4 separate regions of the Homo sapiens genome follow, and all the other regions are linked to region 1. The links are contacts of gene promoters, found by promoter capture Hi-C in human tissues and cell types (Jung and others, 2019). All regions are on one chromosome and are shown on one strand. The core of a region is centred on a gene start or on the middle of the fragment in contact, and the rest is flanking DNA. Distances in the headings are between cores, read along the strand shown. Region 1 holds the start of ATXN2L (ataxin 2 like). Region 2 overlaps MVP (major vault protein). Region 3 holds the start of TBX6 (T-box transcription factor 6). Region 4 holds the start of SEZ6L2 (seizure related 6 homolog like 2).

The links. The method cuts DNA at HindIII sites, captures the fragments that hold promoters and counts their contacts. A contact is called where the count stands out against the background at its distance.
Region 2: a contact is called between a fragment that was not itself captured here and the fragment with the promoter of ATXN2L in region 1, in 1 of the 25 tissues and cell types used here (dorsolateral prefrontal cortex).
Region 3: the fragment with the promoter of TBX6 here is called in contact with the fragment with the promoter of ATXN2L in region 1 in 1 of the 25 tissues and cell types used here (spleen).
Region 4: the fragment with the promoter of SEZ6L2 here is called in contact with the fragment with the promoter of ATXN2L in region 1 in 1 of the 25 tissues and cell types used here (dorsolateral prefrontal cortex).

What each region holds. Positions count from the first base shown.
Region 1 is chr16:28,820,858-28,824,295 of GRCh38, reverse strand. It overlaps ATXN2L (ataxin 2 like), which reads right to left and starts at 1,297. Exons shown (of 22, transcript NM_007245.4): 1 at 738-1,297. The coding sequence starts at 1,036. LOC124903672 (a long non-coding RNA gene) reads left to right here and starts at 254. Exons shown (of 2, transcript XR_007065042.1): 1 at 254-402. RefSeq lists a silencer at 91-1,240 and enhancers at 1,561-1,770, 1,282-2,018. The HindIII fragment of the contact is 10,837 bases long and covers 1-3,438 here.
Region 2 is chr16:29,822,716-29,826,134 of GRCh38, reverse strand. All of the region lies in intron 1 of MVP (major vault protein), which reads right to left. Among named protein-coding and RNA genes, the nearest start is that of MVP, 4.0 kb to the right of the region's middle. RefSeq lists enhancers at 1-551, 738-867, 928-1,007. The HindIII fragment of the contact is 4,985 bases long and covers 1-3,419 here.
Region 3 is chr16:30,090,254-30,093,267 of GRCh38, reverse strand. TBX6 (T-box transcription factor 6) reads left to right here and starts at 1,344. Exons shown (of 9, transcript NM_004608.4): 1 at 1,344-1,395; 2 at 2,027-2,192; 3 at 2,276-2,510. The coding sequence starts at 2,075. YPEL3 (yippee like 3) reads left to right here. Exons shown (of 4, transcript NM_031477.5): 4 at 469-954. The coding sequence ends at 558. RefSeq lists enhancers at 685-874, 2,007-2,880 and a silencer at 1,095-1,354. The HindIII fragment of the contact is 30,865 bases long and covers 1-3,014 here.
Region 4 is chr16:29,898,238-29,901,449 of GRCh38, reverse strand. It overlaps SEZ6L2 (seizure related 6 homolog like 2), which reads left to right and starts at 1,900. Exons shown (of 18, transcript NM_001243332.2): 1 at 1,900-2,509. The coding sequence starts at 2,431. It overlaps ASPHD1 (aspartate beta-hydroxylase domain containing 1), which reads right to left and starts at 962. Exons shown (of 3, transcript NM_181718.4): 1 at 1-962. The coding sequence starts at 478. RefSeq lists a silencer at 915-1,344 and an enhancer at 1,708-2,002. The HindIII fragment of the contact is 10,220 bases long and covers 1-3,212 here.

The sequences.
Region 1 (3,438 bases), core at 48-2,547:
CACACTCGCACAGGAAAAACTGAGCAGGGCCTCCACTACTCATGCACTGCCACCAGACGAGCCCCTCCACGAACTAGTCCCTGCCCTAGGTGTTCCCGGGGCGCGCGAATGCCCGGGTCATGAGACCGAGCATCCACGCGCACGTACGGGAAGGGGGCGCGCGCGCCAGAGGCTCCCGGCCCGCAGTCCTCCCAGTCATCCCTCCTTCCGTCCCCCCGCCCACCTCGCTCCCCTCCTACTGGCCAGACCGGGAAGGGGGAGGCAGCAACCCGCTCCCAAGTCCCTCCCTCCCCATTGGCCAAACTGTGGGCCGCGCGCCCCCCTCCATTGGCTACGGCCGGGGACCCCTTCCCGCAGCAGACTCCCCATTGGCTGAAGCCGGGGACCGCGAGACCCTTCGTGGTAATGGAACCGGGGACCCCGATCAGCTCCTTGCCCCCCCCCAACTCCCCGTTCCGACGGCGCCGGCGGGATGCGCCCCGCCTCCCCTGAAGGCCGGGGCTGCGAGCCCTGACTAGGCCCCGAGAGCCGAGCGCGGCCCCTCAGTGCTCCGGTGGCCGCCCGGGGACCCTTTCCGTCCGACCTGTTCGGACCTGAGGGGGCCCTCCCCCAGCTTCACGGGGACTCCCCACCCAGCCGGTGCCCCTGACGGTGCCGGGTCGGGGTCCGCCCCACCGGAACCGAGCCACAGCCTCTGGGTGGCCGCGGCTCCCTCGCCCGGAGCCCACCCTTCTCACCTGGCGCTGCCGATGGCGGCTGCCCCCGGCCTCTCCTGGTGTTGCTGCGGCGGCGGCGGCTGCGGCGCCAAGATGCCTTCGGCTCCCCGGCGGAGCCCGCTCCCGGCAGCGGCCACAGGCCCCAGGCAGGGGGAGGCGGCCGCTGGAGGCCCGGGAGGAGCCGCAGAGGTGGCCAGCGGCCCCGGGAGGCCGCCGTTGGGAGGGCTGGTGCCCCCGGGGGGCCGACGGGCCACGGCCTGTTGCGTGGGGGGCGGCTGCTGGGGCTGGGAGGGCTGTTGTAGCGGCTGAGGCTTCAACATGATGGCAGCGTCCGGAAGGGGAATTAGAGAGAAGGGAGGGAGAGAGGGGGCCGGGGCTGGGGCCCCGCTGGAGAGCGCGGGAAGCGAGGGGGATCGGGCAGCCGGGGCCCGCCGTGGGCGGGCGGGGGGAGCCCCGCGGTGTCGGGGGTGGAGAGAGAAGACCGCGGCGCGAGGAAGCGCCGCGAGGCGGAAGGGGAGGGGGTCTCGCGGCTGGAGGAAAGCGAGAGGGCGCGAGCCGGGCTGGCGCGCGTGCGCGTCGCCGGGGAGCGGAGAGGGAGGAGCGCGCGGGTGGGAGCTCCCGGGGGGGGGGGGGGGGGGGGGGGGCCAGGAGCGAGCAGTGGCGCGAGGTGCCGCGCACACCGGCGCGGTTAGCTCCCGGCGGGAAAGTGGGAGAGAATCAAGTCGGTGAACCTCGCACCCCTAGCCCTGGGAGTGGGTAAGGAGCGGCGCGGGCGCTCACGCGCGCCAAGGATTTAGGGTCTTAAGGTCTCAAACCGCCTTAGAAGCCGGCGGCCGCTGTCGCTTCACAATGAGCGTGTGAGGCGCAGGGGGAGGAGCCGAAGGCGCCAGAGGAAGGGCCGGCCTCTCCGCCCACGCCGTCGCTGCGTCGCGATGCCTCCGCGGGAGTGTGAGGCGGCACGTCGTGCGTGAGGCTCTTCCGCCACTTGGCGGCCCGTGGGCAGAGCCTTAAGTGCCAAGAAAGTCTCCGGGACTGGACCACCCGAGCCACTGCGCTTTTAGGCAGGTGGTAGGTTTCGCAAGGAGCTACCCTCCACCTTGTTTGCTTTAAGTAAAAGACTGATGAGCATTAGTGATTCGTTTGAGCGTGTTGATCTTTGCAGATAAATTTACGCCTCGTCCTAAATTATTTCAGATTTTTGTGATTTTGACCTAAATTGTTCCTCCATGCCCGAGAATGAATCTTTAAACTGTAATAACAAAGACTGAAGGCCAAAGTTCCGAGTTCAAAATCCTCCACCCGACCCTGCAATGAAGGCAGCTTCATTCATTCAAAATGAGTTGGGCATTGGAGTATTCAGTTAGTTGTTTTGGACACAAGGATAATTAAACTGCTTCCTGCTCTGGAGGAGTTCATGCTAGTGGTGAATTCAGAGAATTTGACGAGATCTAGTAGGTGAAGCACAGAGGACTACAAGAGCAAATGGGAGTGACACCTAATCTTAATCCAGTTTTGGGAGACCCAGATAAGGGACAGGAGGGCCGGGCGCAGTGGCTCATACCTGTAATCCTAACATTTTGGGAGTCCGAGGCAGAAGGATCGTTTAAGGCCAGGAGTTTGAGACCAGCCTAGGCAACAAAGTGAGACTTTGTCTCTACAAAAAAAAAAAAATTTAAATTATAAAAAAAAACTGATAAGAGGGCAGGGGGAGATGGGTTTCTAGGCAGGGAAATAGGATATGACAAACTAAGAAAAACTCAGCTTGTCCTAAGCATAAAATTAAAGGGGGGAAGAGGTAGCTAATCTGGGATCAGGTTTTAAAGGCTCCCAAGTCTTGTAAGAGACACGGACATTATCCTCAAAGCAGTGGGGAGCTTATTTAAGAAAGTGAAAAGAGGCTGGGCATGGTCTGTAATCCCAGTACTTTGGGAGGTTTGAGGTCAGGAGTTTGAGATCAGCCTGGCCAACATGGTGAAACCCTGTCTCTACTAAAAATGCAAAAATTAGCTAGGCGTGGTGGTGCATGCCTGTAATCCCAGCTACTCAGGAGGCTGAGGCAGGAGAATCACTTGAACCAAGGAGGCGGAGGTTGCCGTGAGCCCAGATCGCACCACTGCACTCCAGCCTGGGTGACAGAGCAAGACTCCTTCCCCCCAAAACAAACAAAAAAACAAGTGAAAAGAGGTCAGATTTGCATTTTTAAAGGTTTACTCTTTGCAACGTGGAGAATGGAGTGGAGCTGTTAAGTCCATGTGGTCTTAATCCCAGCGAAACTCTCAATGTCTCAATCTCTTCGCTCTAAATGTTAGCATTGGAACTCTTCCCAGCCCCTGCACCAAACACATGCACACCTAGCTACAACACTGCCTTACTTTTTGGGTAATAGTCCTTCGCCCTGCCTCGCTCCTGCCTTCAGATGTGCTAGTTTCCCCTCCTGTGTGCTCGCCGAGCAATTTATCCCACTGTATTCTAACAGCTCCTTTAATTCTGTCTTCCTGCTAATGTCAGCTCCCTAAGGGTTAGGATCTTGACTTATTTCTTGCTCTGCAGTACTCTAGCACACTGCAGGCACTCAATGAAATATCTGTAAGGTGAGTGGATCCAAATGATGTTTTTTTGTTTGTTTTTGAGATGGAGTTTTGTTCTTATTGCCCAGGCTGGAGTGCAATGGCGCGATCTCGGCTCACCACAACCTCCGCCTCCCGGGTTCAAGCGTTTCTCC
Region 2 (3,419 bases), core at 1-2,500, 1.0 Mb before region 1:
TGAGGAATCTAGGGAATATAACCAGTGCTGGGGGCTCCCCACCTGAGCTGGCATGCTGGTTTAAGCCTCAGTTGTTTACTGGTCAGTGGCTTATTTCACCCCAGCTGCAGGGATGGAACAGCAAGTAGGGGCTTTACTGCCAAGTGAAGCTTTTTCCACTGCTCCCTTGGAGGGTTCTCCGCAGGGCCGAAACCTGGCCAGGAAACCAGATGGGAGAAGAGGAAGGGCTGGGGCTGTGAGCGGAGGTATGGACAGGGCTCTGAGGCCCCCCCAGGAAAGATTTGAACTCTAGAAGGCCGTGCAAGGTTGGAAGCAGGCTCTGGGAACAGCCTCCATTTGGTTCATCAGTGGATAATCTCCCCAACACCCCCCACAGCTGAGGCCTCTCCACCATCTGCCGCCCCAGCTGGGCCCAGTCAGGGGGTCTGAATGCCTCGCCCAGCTCAGTGACTCAGCAAGAGTCATCCTCATGGCTGGACTCCTGCCTTGTTCTGAGGCCAAGCCCTCGGCAACTGCCCCTGCATCAGCACCAGGACCCCACCTCACCTCCCTGACCACCCACCTGCCATGCCCTAAACCTGGGCCTTCTGCCTAGACCACCCAGGACAGGTCTTGCCTTCTACCCTCGCCATCTATGGAGGTGAGCCAGGGAAACCCTTTGACTCAGGCAGCACATTGGTGACAAGTCTCAGATTGAGTTTTTTGTGGTTTCCTTCCAGATGACATGCGCAGTTAGAGCATTTTACTTAAAATAGATCAGGGCCCTCAAAAGACAATAGCAAGGATTGTGTTGACCTTTGGAAGGCTCTGCCCAGCCCTCAGGCTTGGCCCCTGCTCCCCAGATCCACTCATCCACCCAACTTCCTTCAGTCTCTGCTTCTGAGACCTGCCCTAGTCGGCTCTCAGTGTAGAGGCCCAGTCTTGCCTGATCACACCTCCCTCAGGTGTCATGAGGCTCCTGCAAGAACCACAGCCAGCTTTCACCCCAAATCCCACCAGGGTCTCTCCCACCATGAGGGTAAATAAGCAGGAACTAAATAGCCTGTCCAAAGCAGAAACCAGGTTCATTGTCTAGTTAAAAGAGGGGCTCTTGCCTGAGAGAGGTGGCTCACACCTGTAATCCCAACACTTTGGGAGGCCGAAGGTGGGAGGATGGATTGAGGCCAGGAGTTCAAGACCAGCTTGGGCAACATAGCAAGGCCCCATCTCTTTAAAGAAAGAAAAAAAAAAAAAAGAGGGAGACCGGATCAGACTCTTGGCTCAAAAGTAAACTTCTGCTACAGCAAAACTTAATAAATAAACGAGTCATGAGTCACTACTTCCCAGAGATCTTCAGGGTCAACTGTGAGTAGCTGATATACTGAATCTCTTTTTTGTTTTTTTTGGAGACTGTAGCCCAGGCTGGAGTGAAGTGGCACAATCTCGGCTCACTGCAACGTCCACCTACCTCCCAGGTTCAAGCAATTCTCGTGCCTCAGCCTCCCGAGTAGCTGGAATTACAGGCACATGCCACCAAGCCTGGCTAATTTTTTGTATTTTAGTAGAGATGGGGTTTCACCCCAGGGTGGTCTCAAACTCCTGAGCTCAGGCAATCTGCCTGCCTCAGCCTCCCAAAGTGCTAGGATTACAGGCGTGAACCACCACACCTGGCCCCTAGTGAGTCTTAAATGGCAATTGACCAAGTGACCACACTGCCTACGGGGTCTGCAGTGAGTAGAGTGGTACCACCTGGAGGCTTGATAGCAACACAGCCTGGGGCCCCACCCCAGAGCCACTGAATCTACTGGCATTTTAACTCGACCCTCAATGACTTGCATGCACATTACAGTCTGAGCAGCTCTGGTCTAAAGCAGACTCTCGGCTCGGGCTGCACACTGGTCATCTGGAAATCTGTTTTTTTTTTTTTTTTTTTTTTTTTTTTTTGAGATGGAGTTTCGTGCTTGTTGCCCAGACTGGAGTGTAGCCATCTCGGCTCACTGCAACCTCTGCCTCCCGAGTTCAAGCAATTCTCCTGCTTCAGCCTCCCAAGTAGCTGGGATTACAGATGTCCGCCACCACACCCAGATAATTTTGTTTTTAGTGGACAGGGTTTCGCCATGTTGGTCAGGCTGGAAGTGATCCACCCACCTCGGCCTCCCAAAGGGCTAGGATAACAGGTGTGATCTGCCGCGCCAGGCCTTCTGGAGACCTTTTTTTAAAGCCACCCATCTCCGGTGATTCTATTTAATTGGTCTGGGTGAGGTTCACCCGTTGCTATTGTAAAAAGTTCTCCCTCATTTTTTTTTTTTTTTTCTGAGACGAGTCTCGCTCTGTCACCCAGGCTGGAGTGCAGTGGCACGATCTCGGATCACTGCAGCTCCGCCTCCCGGGTTCATGCCATTCTCCTGCCTCAGCTGGGATTACAGGCACCCACCACCACGCCTAGCTAATTTTTTTTGTATTTTTAGTAGAGATGGGGTTTCACTGTGTTAGCCAGGATGGTCTTGATCTCCTAACCTCGTGATCCGCCTGCCTTGGCCTCCCAAAGTGCTGGGATTACAGGCGTGAGCCACCGCGCCTGGCCTCTGACTCTTAATATATATCCAGGATTGAGAGCCAGTGGGAAAATGTCACTCCAGCAGGTTTTATCACTGCCAGCATGCTCCTGGGCCACTTACTAGCCTCTGAGCCTTCCTCTCCAGTGAAGTGAGAATAAAAGTGACTGTTGACTAGGCTTGGTGGCTCCCACCTGTAATCCCAGCACTTTGGGAGACCAAGATGGGAGGATCACTTGAGGCCAGGAGTTCAAGACCAGCCTGGGCAACATAGGGAGACCCTGTCTCTATAAAAACCATAAAAAATATTAGCTAGGTGTGGTGGTGCACACCTGTGGTCCCTGCTACTTTGGAGGCTGAGGTGGGAGGATCGCCTGTGCCTGGGAGGTCAAGGCTGCAGTGAGCCGTAAATGGAGCACACGAGTGCGCTCTAGCCTGGGCAAGAGTGAGGCCATCTCAAAAAAAAAAAAAAAAAAAAGAAAAGAAAAGAAAAGGAAAAAAAAATGACTGCTCTTCAAGTCAAAGGTATTAGAGACTGGAGGGTCTCTGGTGCACAGTAGGAACTGGGAGGAGGATAAAGATCAGTTTCAGGCCGGGCGCAGTGGCTGTAATCCCAGCACTTTGGGAGGCCAAGGCAGGCGGATTGCCTGAGCTCAGGAGTTCGAGACCAGCCTGGCCAACATGGTGAAACTTCGTCTCTACTAAAAATACAAAAATTAGCCGTACATGGTGGCAGGCAACTGTAGTCTCAGCTACTCGGGAGGCTGAGGCAGGAGAATTGCTTGAACCAGGGATGCAGAGGTTGCAGTGAGTCGAGATTGCGCCATTGTACTCTGGCCTGGGGGACAGAGCGAGACTCTGTCTCAAAAACAAAAACACAGCTCC
Region 3 (3,014 bases), core at 95-2,594, 1.3 Mb before region 1:
ACAAAAAAACCTCAAGTGCCTGCAAGGCCAAGCAGATACTGTAGATGTGTAAAGGGTAGCATAGATTGGCAGGGTTGGGAGTTGGGGGCAGGCTGGGCAAACTGGAGTGAGCAAGGCCTACTTATATTTTAATACTTTAAAGTTATTTTTATTAAACTGTCTGCTGTCCAAACATAATACATGTTGTAGGCCAAAATGGCCATGAAGCTACCAGTTTGCAAACCCTGAACTGTGAAATCTTTTAGCCACTTCCCTATCTTCTCTGTTGGAGCCATCATTAGTACTTAAAAAAGTACCTTTGAGTCAGGGAGTTCTATTCTACTCTGTGTTTGTGAGAAATACGGCCCTGCCCCTCTGGGCCACAGTTTCCTCATATGTAAAATGGGGCCACTCATGTCCACTTCCCAACCCCAGTGCCTTGTGGTGAGACTGTTGCTCCGGGGATGACGGTCCCGCCCCTCCTTTCAGGAACAGGCCTTTGAGAGCAGCCAGAAGTACAAAGAGGGGAAGTACATCATTGAACTCAACCACATGATCAAAGACAACGGCTGGGACTGACCCCCGCTCCCCCGACGCATGTGGCTCCAGCCCGGCCTGGCCGCCAGGGAGCGCCACTGGCTTCCCGCCACCCGAAGGGAGCTCTGGACCCTCAGAGCCCCTGCAGAGGACGGATCTAGCTCCTGTATATATATTTTATTGCATGCACTGTGACCTTGGGGGGAGAACAGAAGGGGGACGACGCCCCCGCACCTCCTGCGATCTGGCTGGCTTGGATCTCGTTTTTAACCCGTTCCTGCCCCACCTGCCCTATAGTTATGGCCTGTGTTCTGCTCTCCTGGTCCCAGTGCACCGTCTGCTCTGTGAACTCCTCCCACCAGGCCCTTCTTACCCCACGCGTGTCTGTCCCCCTCGTTCTGTAGCGTTTGTACATAATAAAACAATGGAGTGGAGACAGCTCAGGCTCGCGTGTAATCCGGGAAGGGGGAGCTCAAGCGGAGATTTCCGCCCCTATAGACCTGTGCGGTTCTGAGCCCCGGCGGGGCATGGGGTAGGCACAGCCGTCCAAGCTGGGTCTCCGGGAACCGGGACGGTTTCACTGCTGGCGGAGGTCCTGAGCCCACTCTGGCTGCCTACGCCGTGACCTCGGCTGATCTGCGTCTGCTCATCTGCAGCGTTTGGCCGCCGCCTAGGGGCAGCGTCCCAGGGAGGCAACCGCGCCGCCGGCCTCGCAGCCCCCTCGCGGTCGGACTGCAACTCCCAGCGGCCCCCGCGTGGTCCGTCCGGCTCCTTCGGGCGCGCCTCAGCGCTGAGCCTGCCGGGAAGTGTAGTTCCGAGGGTTCCCCAGCGCGGGACCTTCGGGAAACCCTGGCGCGAGGCGTCAGAAGCTGTCGGACTGTGAGCGCCTTCGAACTTTGGAGGCTTGGCTCGGGATGGAGGTTTTTTTAGCATGGGGACCAGGGAGGACTACGGTGCTCGGGACTGGGCTGCGGCCTCCTCGCGGCCCCGAGTGCCCTGTGAAATCAGCTCAGGCCGCGTCCCTCTAGCCTGCACTTTCCCTCTGTTCACGCTGCTTCCCTCCAGGGCCCGGCCTCCAAGTGAAGGGGGGCGGAGGGCGGTCACCTGCCAGAAGGTCTGGGGCGCCAAGGTGTGTCCCGGGACTCTTGGCTCCGTCCAGGTTCCAGGCCCCGCCCCCCAGCTTATCCCTAGCCGGGGCTCCCCACCGTGGGAACGGGGACCAGCTGGCCGGAAGCGCCAAACTGCGTCCCTGTCCGAGCCCTGGGGATCAATCAAGCCGAGGAGTTAATTATGTAATGAGGGGGCAGGGGGTCGAGGCTAATGAAGCCTCCCGGGGTGGGGAGGGAGGGGAGGAGGGGACCGTACCCAGGTATCCGACCCCCTCTCGGACCCCTTCGAGGCCCCAGGGGTCTCCACCCCAGCCCAACTCCAGGGCCCCAAAGAGGGGAGGGGCTGTGATCCTGGATCTGGAAGGGGCTGAGCTGTGAGCTATAAAGGGGGCATCTCGCAGCACCGGGGGCCCTAAGCAGCGAGACCTGAGGCCAGACGGAACTACAACATGTACCATCCACGAGAATTGTACCCGTCCCTGGGGGCCGGCTACCGCCTGGGGCCCGCCCAACCTGGGGCCGACTCCAGCTTCCCACCCGCCCTAGCGGAGGGCTACCGCTACCCCGGTGAGCGTTGGGACCAGCTCCTGGGTAGGAGAATAGGGGGGCTGTGGCCCTCGGCTGGCTCCTCATTCTTCCCCGGCTTCCAGAACTGGACACCCCTAAACTGGATTGCTTCCTCTCCGGGATGGAGGCTGCTCCCCGCACCCTGGCCGCGCACCCACCTCTGCCCCTTCTGCCCCCTGCCATGGGCACTGAGCCGGCCCCATCAGCTCCAGAGGCCCTCCATTCCCTCCCGGGGGTCAGCCTGAGCCTGGAGAACCGGGAGCTATGGAAGGAGTTCAGCTCTGTGGGAACAGAAATGATCATCACCAAAGCTGGGAGGTGAGGGGCTGGCCAGGGTCCGTGTTTCTGGTGGGGGTCTCTTGGGAAAGGCAGAGTCCCTGGGGAGGGGGCTAGGACTGGGTGGTTCCCGAGGGGCTAGAGCTCTGCCTAGGCCTAGAATCTGACTATGGCCTGGGGCAAGGGTTACTCTGTGGCAGGAATCAGGAGTCACTCTGTGACAAGGGTTAAGGGCCAGTCTGTGGAGTCTGTGGCTGAGTTTAGGGACCAATCTATGGCAAGGGTCATGGGTCAGTCTGGGGCAGGGTCAGGAAGTCCCTCTGGGTTATAGGTTAGTGTGTGGCTTAGACCAGCATCCAGACAAGGACAGGGGGTCAAGGGCCAGCCCATTGACCAGCATCAGGGAAATCTGGCCAGGATTCGGGATCAGTATGCAACTCGAATAGGAGTCAGTATATGACTAGGTCCAGGGTCACCCTAGAGGCAGGGACACGGTCAGTGTTTGACCTTAGATGAGGTCTTTAGCTGGGGCAGGAACTCAAGCCC
Region 4 (3,212 bases), core at 651-3,150, 1.1 Mb before region 1:
CCCAGGAGTAGCGCCTTGCGTAGGCCCGAAGCCGCCGGCTCACTAGGCCTTCCGTCCTAGGTCCTTCCCCGGGATCCCCAGGACCCCCTGGGCTTGGCCCGCCGGCCTCCGAGCATCCCACAGGCCCACCACGAACACCCCCAGCTCGGCTCCCAGCCCCTAGGGCCTGCATGTCTTGGGAGCCCAGGCGGTAGCAGTACCAGAGGAACAGGGAAGTGAGGGCCCCGAAGAGCAAGGTGAGGGCCGAGGAGGCCAGGGGTAGTGGCCACGGGAGCATGATCAGGGAGGCCCTGGCCAAGAGGCCTGGGGCGTCCTCCGGACCCCAGTTCCCCTGTCCCCCCAGCTCCCCACCTGTCCCTTCCATGGCTGCCCCCTGGCTCCCCGCTGGACTGTTTCCCTTCCACATTCCACTCTGGGCTGTCTCTCTCTCCTTCCGCGGTCCTCTCTCCACGCTGAAGCTCCCTCTCCCCTCCTTCATGCACCTCCAACCCTCCTCTCTCCTTTCTCTCCCCTTTCTCTCTCCTTCTACCTCTTCTTCCTCCTCTCCCTCTGTCGCCTCCTCACCCTCTTCTTTCTCCTTCCAGCAGCCTCCTCTCTCTCGCTCTGCTTCTCTCTCCCACCTCAATCTCCCCCTTTCCTCCCCACCCCCGCTTTTCGCTCGCTCTCTCTCCCCGCTTCCTCCTAGCTCCCCTGGGCAGCGGTTCCTACCCTGCCTGGACCTGCAGTCCCGGGAACCCGCAGCCTGTCTTCCTCCGCGGCAGCTTCTTTCTCTCCGGCCTCACTGCTCTCTCCTTGCCCTCGCTCCTCACTAGCCCCGACCCTGCGGTCCTGCCTGGCTCTCGCTCCCTCTCTCCTACTCGCTCCTTCCTGGGCTCCCACTCACCCTGACGTCACTCCTTCCCGGAGCCCTCTCAGCTCAGCCACCCCCGAACCCTCCCAGTGGCACAGCAAATCAGCCGGGTGCCGGGGGAGGGGGGAGAGTTGTCGCTGGAGGTGCCTCCCCACCCCCCCCGCCCGGAAAGGGCGCCACGTGGGGCGCAGGGGCCACGGTGCCAGCCTCCAGCCGTCCCGCAATGCGAAAGAAGGGGCGGGTCGTATCGGGCGGGGCCTGAGGGGCGGGGCCTGAGGGGCGGGGCGAGCGCGGACTGACGGCTGGGCAGGCGCCCGGGACTGCGGGCAAGGATGCTGAGGCCAGTCCGTCGGGCGGCTGGTCCGTCGGTCGGTCGGCCTGTGACTCCCGCTGGCCCTAGGCAGCCCGGGAGCCCGCGAGCCTGGCAAACACCGAAAGCGGCCTCAGCCAATCGCGGGCGGCGTCGGGCCGGGCCCGCCCCGGCGGGGCGAGGGGAGCTGTCCGCGCGCCGCTGGTGCTGAAAAGGGCGCTCCGGAGGGAAAATCAGAGCCGAGGCCGCCTGTTAGCTGGCCGGGGTCAGGGTTTATGGAAGAGGAGGGGTCTGTCTCTCCTCCCCAAACCCCGGCCCGTCACCCACGAGACTTGTCACAATCGTGGAAGCTCTCTATTCCCCTGGAGGAGGGAGAGCCCATTCCACCCGAGCTACTGTAAAAGGGGAAGGGAAGCCCCTTGGGAGGTCTGAATGTGAACAGGGGGCATAATTGGGGGCCTAGCAGGCGCGAACCAAGCTATGCAGCCCCTCGGCACCCTGGGAAGAGGAGATTCAGATTCCAGATGTGCTGGAATGGCAGGCGGAGGGGGCTAATTACTGCTGGGACCAGAGAGTTTCCTTTGCCTCCCCTAGGGGCCGCGGGAGTGAGGATTACGGCCCTGGCTCGTATGATCCCTCCCTCCTCCATCTGCACTTCCTCCTCCTCCCTCCCCGTCAAATAAATCCCAGGCCCCTCCCTCCGCCCGTCCCCAGGATCTGACGTGGGCTCGATACCTTTCTCAGCTTCTCCCTCCCGCAGCTCCAGTGCCCGAGCTTCGGCTCTCCCAGTTCCCCAACCCACCCCTTCCCCTCCCCGACAAGCCCCGCTAGAGCCCAGTGGAGACCCCCTCGATCCTCGACCCCACCCTAAACCCCCAGAAGCTGTCTTTCTCCTCCCCAGTCCCCTAGCTTGGGGTCCAGACAGCCCAGTGGACCCAGGCGCCTGAGCAGGAGGGTAACCCAGGCCACCCGGCCCCTTCGGCCCTCTCGGCCCCACCCCCTGCAGCCGGAGCCGCGCCCCCTCCACCACAGAGCCGCGAGAAGAGGACAGAGGAGACTGAGCAAAGGGGGGTGGGCTCCAGGCGACCCCTAGCCCAATTCTGCCCCTCCATCCCAAGGGGCAGAGAAATTGTCTTTCTTTGCTGACTCCTACGAGGAAAAAAAAAAAAAAAAAAAAAACAATTAAAGGGAAAGATAAACGGAGACGGAGGAAAGGTGGCAGCCAGATTACTTAGAGAGGCACAGAGGAGAGAGATCGGGGTGAGTCGCCATGGGGACTCCCAGGGCCCAGCACCCGCCGCCTCCCCAGCTGCTGTTCCTAATTCTGCTGAGCTGTCCCTGGATCCAGGGTAAGGACATGAGACTGTGGGGGTGGGCCCCAGGAAGGCGTCCAGCGGGGTCCTCCACCCTCCTTTCTCTTAATATCCTGGGTCTTCCGAGCACATGGGGGAGGGGAGAGGCACAGCTGATGGGGAAGGGGCAAGCCAGAGCTTTCAGGCTTGAACCCGAAGCCCCTTAACCCTCAATATTGAGAAGGCAGAGAAATGAATGAGAGAAGCTTTTAGCAGTGTCTCAGGGGCTAGATCCAAGAAGGAGGGCTGGGAAAGTTGGGGGGATGTCTGCGGAGGCGGCAGAAGCATGGAGGGACCTGGGTGGGAGATGGAGGTGCTGAGAGAGATGCCAGGCGCTGTACACACAACTGTTCTTGGATGAATGGACAAAGACAGATGAGCAGAGGCAGGGCTCAAAGACCAGATTTTCAGTCCCCCACTCTGACCCCCAGCCAGACTCCAGGGAAGGAGGCAGAGACTGCAGAGGACCAGAGAGAGAGAGGGTGGGGGGGAGAGAGAGAGAGAGAGAGAGAGAAAAGACAGCCACACTGCAGAGACAGAAACCCAGAGAGAAAGCCAGGCACTGCGGAAGCAAGGGCTGGGAGGTGCGGCCAGATCCTCTGCAGAGCCCCAGGGTTGGGGGGAGATCACCACTGAGGTGAAAGGGAAGGCAGCACCGGCGACCCCTCTGCCTTGCTGGCGCTGTCCAGGGTCCATAAGA